Linked DNA regions of Homo sapiens: region 1 is linked to region 2. The links are contacts of gene promoters, found by promoter capture Hi-C in blood cells and fetal thymus (Javierre and others, 2016). All regions are on one chromosome and are shown on one strand. The core of a region is centred on a gene start or on the middle of the fragment in contact, and the rest is flanking DNA. Distances in the headings are between cores, read along the strand shown. Region 1 overlaps EBF4 (EBF family member 4). Region 2 holds the start of PCED1A (PC-esterase domain containing 1A).

Region 1 (2,700 bases), core at 183-2,682, 100 kb before region 2:
GCACACCATGGTGACCATGCACCAGCCCCTTCCTGCCGCTGCATGTGGCATGCCCAGAGGCCTCCCATTAGTGGCCACTCCACCCTTCCTCCTCTCCCCTCAGGCCTGGTTTGGGGAAAGTGGAGCCACTGCCACTCTTGGTGGGCAGCTGGGGGCCCCTTAGCAGTCTCTCCACACCCCCTCCCCTTCTCCTCAGGCCCCATGCCCAGCCCTGAGGTTTGGAGAGCCTAGTAAGTGCCCTATCAACATGTTAATCAAATTACTTAGGAGCTAAAATTGACGCTGTTCATTAATTATACAAGATTATGCTAATTGTGCATGCAAATGCATGCAGGGGAACAGAAGGTGTTCAGGCGCATGGTGGGCCATTAGCATAGAGGATGGGGTGCGGGTGCATTGGCATGCTAATGTATGCGCCCTGGCTATTTATAGTCCTCCAGCCCATCTGCACTGCAGCCACCTCTACCCGGGTGGGGATCATGGTGGGGAGGCCAGGTCCAGGCCTGGCAGGTGGCTGTGGCCCTGGGGACAGTCTATCTTGGCTTCTACCGCAGGCTAAGACCAGGAAGCAGCCTGGGCCAACCCCACATGGGCCTGAACTATTACAGTAAGCTCCTCATTTCCCTTCCCTTCTCTAGCGTAGGCCCTTTGGTGCCTGTTTCTGCCTGAAGGGAGACATCCCCTGTAGCCTTCCCATCACCCAGAGGATCCAAGTCCCGCATGATTTGGTCCCAACCCCAGGCCCCAAGCCACGCTGCCCTCCTCAGTCTTGTCAGGCACCACTGATCGAGTGAGCCGTCTGCCCCGTGGTGGAGCTGTTAGTCCCTTTGCATGGAGGGCCCTGCCTCCTACTTCTCGGTGAGATCCTCCAAGACCCATCACCCAAGACCAAATTGGAGCTCTAGGAAGCATTCCGCCTCCCCTAGGCAAAATAAGTGGCCACTGCAGATTACACTTGGCACATCCTCCTGCCGTGCCCACCACTCTGTCTTCCTGAGTTTCTCTTTCCTGTTGGGTTGTAATTTCCTTAAGATTTTATACAATGCCGCAGTGCCTAACACATAGAAGGTATTTAATAAATCTTTTTAAGTGGGTGTATGGAATGAATGAGGGGATGAATGGCCCAGCCCTCTGTGTCCTCCTCTGTCCCTGAGCTGAGGGTAGAGAGAAGCAGACAGTGAACACGCTGGAGAGCCAGAAACTGCTTCAGTTTCTTCGGAGGCTCATGGGAGCCCAAGACAAATCTTTTAGGATAAAAATTAGCGGAGATCCCTGTCCCCTTATTTCCCCATCTCAGGCTGCAGTGCCAGCTTTGGGCTTGGAAACACATATCCAATTTAATCTACCCTTCACTCTTAACCTGCTGTCTTTCCCAAGGCCTTCACAGGACACACTGTTGTTTGGAACATCCTGCCCCAGCTCGTATATCCATTCACTGCATACCTTCTTTCTAGATCTGCACTGTCCAATATGGTAGTCTCGAGCCACATGTGACTATTTAGATTTATGTTCATTAAAATGGCTGGGCGCAGTGGCCCACGCCTGTAATTCCAGCACTTTGGGAGGCCAAGGCGGGTGGATCACCAGAGGTCAGGAGTTCATGACCAGCCTGACCAATATGGTGAAACGCTGTCTCTACTAAAAATACAAAAATTAGCTGGGCATGGTGGCAGTCGCCTTTAGTCCCAGCTACTCAGGAGGCTGAGGCGGGAGAATCGCTTGAACCCAGGAGGTGGAGGTTGCAGTGAGCCGAGATCACGCCACTGCACTCCAGCCTGGGCAACAGAGCGAGACTCCGTTTCAAAAAAAAAATAGATTTATGTTAATTAAAATGAAATAAAATTCAGTTCCTCAGTTGCACTAGCCACATTTCCAGTGCTTAGTAGCCATGCGTGGCTAATGCATATCATTCTGGAAAAAGTTCCCTTAGGGAGCACTGTAATCTAGACACGTTCTTCCTTGCCCCTGACAGACCTGTAGTGGAAAATGCACTCGGGCTCTCCTTCCAGCTCTTTGAGTTACTGACAGCTTTCTCTTTGGAAGTGAGAACATAATTTCAGCCCTAAGTATCTCATGGGGATGCAGGGAAGAAAAAGCTGGTGAAAAGCCTTAGCTCTGTGACCTAAGTTTTCTTAGGGTGGGATTCCTGGAAGCAGAGCCTGAGATGGGGATTCTTGTGAAAGAGGTTTATCAAAGGAGAGCTCTCAGGAGAAAAGGAATGAGTATAGAGGGAGTTTAACAAGGAGGTGGTCTCGGTCGGAGTCTAGCGTCAGCCTATCCCATGCAGAGGTCTGGAGTGTGAATGGCCAGAGAGTTGGTCCTCCTTGTAATGTCAATCTGTCATTGGCTGTGGGCTACTGGTGGGGAGTATATGCTCTTGGCTGAGGGTAATTCTCAGATTACCTTGGGGCAGCTGCGAGCCATTTGACAGTCTACACTGCAGCTGGGGCATGAGGGAATCAGGCAGGCATCAACTCACTGTAAAGTTCCTGGACGTTGTCTTCCAAAAGAAGCTCCAGGCCAGGCATGGTGGCTCATGCCTGTAATCTCAGCATTTTGGGAGGCTGAATCAGAAGGATCGCCTGAGCCCAGGAGTTTGAGACCAGCCTGGGCAACGTACTGAGACCTCCGTCTCTACAAAAAATAAACAAAATTAGCTGAGCATGGTAGTGTGACCTGTAGTCCCACCTGCTCAGGAGG
Region 2 (2,700 bases), core at 171-2,670:
AGCAAGAGCACCAGGTCCTTGTACACAGCCCTCTGAACTGGGAGGAGACAGAGATCCCAAGGCTGAGGCAGACCTCAGCCTGCCCCAGCTCCTTCCAAGTCCAGGACCCCATTTTCCCAGGGCTGAGGTGCCCGACACCAGCTCTGTGGTTGACTTAGACGCAGGAGAAAAGATGAGGTTAAAAAGTCCTGGCATTGCCTCTGTTCTGTGTGCCTCCTGGCCAGCAGTATACAGTGACCCAAGATCACCTGGCAGAAATTAAGTCGGCCAAGTCACCCAGGAGACACACTACACAATGCAACGCTTTCGTGATGGAAATTATGGGGAGCTGTCAGGGCGAGAAATGCTGAGCAAGGATGGGCTAAAAAGTGCACAGGTTATTACACCTGTCAGGACTCCTGTGGAAGATGTGTGGGACATAAAAAGAGAAAACCTACTGGACGGAACAGACCAGAAGACAGACAAGAGATGTGAGATGGAAACAAATGGTCCAGACACACTGAACGGGCTGCAAGGTGTGGGACTGGAAGCGTCACCCTAGAAGAGGCACTCACTGGAGTCCCCCAAGATGACCACGAACTTGTTGTGTAGCAGCTGCTGGACTTCCGAGGCCTGGAAGTGGACCATGTCGCTTCGCAGCGGGCGGCGCGGCTCCTCGCTCGACAGACAGAAGACCATGCCGCCACCAGCAACGACAGGCTGCAGGGAGAGGCCACTAAGCAGCGCGATGGTGGGGACTCTGGGCAGGTCAGCCTCAGGGCTAGCCCCTCCGGGGCTGCTCAATGCTAAAGGGAGGAGGTGACGGCAGCAGAGCCATGGTGGCGCCAGCCTTGGTCACACTTGGTACCAGAGGCAGGGGGTCGTCCAGCCAGCAGGCCTCCAGGGCACTGGGGAGCTTCCCGCGCGGCGCCGCCCTGCGCCTCGCCACGTGCCCGCCGCCGTCCCGCGCATGCGCGCACCCGCTCGCGCCAATTACCAAGTCCCGGGGCTCCGCGGTGTTCACCCGCGACCCGGGTATGCCTGCGCACCGCGCGCCTGGCCCGCAGCGGGCTCCTAGCCAAGCCTCATGTTCCCGCGCCCCAGTCGGCCAGTCGGTTCTGCAAAGCTCCCGCCCCGCAGAGACCGTGGGTCCAGGTTAGCCGTCGGTGCACAGCCCAGCGCCCAGCGCTCTCCATGCGAGCGTCGCTGTGGCCCCGACGGCGCCTCAGGCCTCGGCGCCTCGGGCTGCGACGCTCACAGCTTCCACTTCCGTTCACCCATGTCCCGCCCTGAGCGACCCCCAGTGCCCGAAGGGAAAGCAAGGCGATGGAGGTGGCCGCCACAGGGCGCAGGAGCCAGGGCTGGGCCCACTTGGCGGGCGCGAAGCCCAGGTACGGGCTGGGGTCTCGGGGCGGCAGCCAAGTGAGGCTGCCCACAGTGGTGATGGCCGCGGCGGCGGCCTCGCCACGTGACCCGGACGGGCGGAAGCGGAAGTGCCGGCCTGGAGCCCGCTCTAGGTGGGTGTCCCCTCGGTGCTTCCCAGCTGCCGTCTGCACCAGCCATGGACTGCTACACGGCGAACTGGAACCCACTCGGGGACTCTGCCTTTTACCGGTGAGCTGCCCCGCCCTCCCGCCCACGGCCTGGCTTACCCTGCTCGCCCGCCGGCTGGAGTCTCCCGGCGGCGTTCGCCCCTGTCACTACTGGCGCTGGGGTCCGCCCCGCGCCGGCTCTCCCCGAGCGTCTGCCACTTAGCGCACAGCCGCCTTTGGGCAGGGAGCCGGGCCTTCCCCTGCTCCAGAAAAGGAAACTGAGGCAAGCACAGTGGTCACCCCGAAGCCCAGGTCTGTTAGCCTCCGGAAAGATGCTCAGATCTCGCTGAGGGAGGCAGCTCGCGGGTGACAGCGAGTGCCCAGTCTCCTGCCGGAAAGTGCTGCTGAAGTCAGACCACAGGGGCGCTCCGAGGGGGGCGGGATCGCACGGCGGGCGGGGTAACAGTGCTGACCAAGGCTGGGAAAAGGGGGCGAGTCGTCCGTGAATCCCGGAACAGCGGAAGTGGGAACCCCTGGGTTAGGGCAGCCCGCCCATGGGAGTTGTAGAGTCCTAAACCACGGATTTTTCTAAAGTGTAAACCCGTTACATCGTTACCCAGATTAGGATTTTCCCATAGCTTCCCTAATAGGAAAAACTACGAACTTCTCGTGGAACGTCTATCTGTAAGGCAGCCCGTTTGTCTCTCCAACCTCATCTACCGCTCTCCTACCCAAATCTTGCGTTCCAGCTGCGCAGAATTACAAGGCCCTAACCAGTCTGCAGTTTCTGTGGATACTGCCATTTCTCTCTTTATCTCACTGAAGAATTTTGCGCATCCTTCAGGACTTAGTAGTTCAAGGGTTCTTTCTGGAACTGTGCCTGATTCTCCCCCAATAGAATCCTGTGGGCCTCACTGGGCCCAGTGCTAGGGTCTTTTAGGTATGGTCTATTTGTATATTTAGGCGACATTTGTATAGGTTTCTTCTGCTAAACCAGGCTCCTTCAGGGCTGAAAGCATTTTTTTTTTTTTTGACAGAGTCTTCCTCTGTTGCCCAGGCTGGAGTGCAGGGGCACTCGGCTCACTGCAACCTCCGCCTCCCGGGTTCAAGGGATTCTCCTGCCTCAGCCTCCCGAGTGGCTGAGACTGCAGGCCCCTGTCACCACGCCCGGCTAATTTTTGTATTTTTT

What was found. Contacts are between HindIII fragments. The CHiCAGO score rates a contact against its expected background, and 5 or more counts as called.
Region 1: a fragment that was not itself captured here is called in contact with the fragment with the promoter of PCED1A in region 2 in 3 of 17 cell types (megakaryocytes, total CD8 T cells and activated CD4 T cells); the score reaches 8.0 in megakaryocytes.

Annotation. Positions count from the first base shown.
Region 1 is chr20:2,738,511-2,741,210 of GRCh38, forward strand. All of the region lies in intron 6 of EBF4 (EBF family member 4), which reads left to right. Among named protein-coding and RNA genes, the nearest start is that of EBF4, 47 kb to the left of the region's middle. RefSeq lists an enhancer at 52-633. The HindIII fragment of the contact is 5,127 bases long and covers 1-2,700 here.
Region 2 is chr20:2,839,235-2,841,934 of GRCh38, forward strand. PCED1A (PC-esterase domain containing 1A) reads right to left here and starts at 1,421. Exons shown (of 8, transcript NM_022760.6): 1 at 977-1,421; 2 at 555-699; 3 at 1-37. The coding sequence starts at 678. It overlaps VPS16 (VPS16 core subunit of CORVET and HOPS complexes), which reads left to right and starts at 1,511. Exons shown (of 24, transcript NM_022575.4): 1 at 1,511-1,593. The coding sequence starts at 1,541. RefSeq lists enhancers at 723-1,254, 1,788-2,319. The HindIII fragment of the contact is 13,128 bases long and covers 1-2,700 here.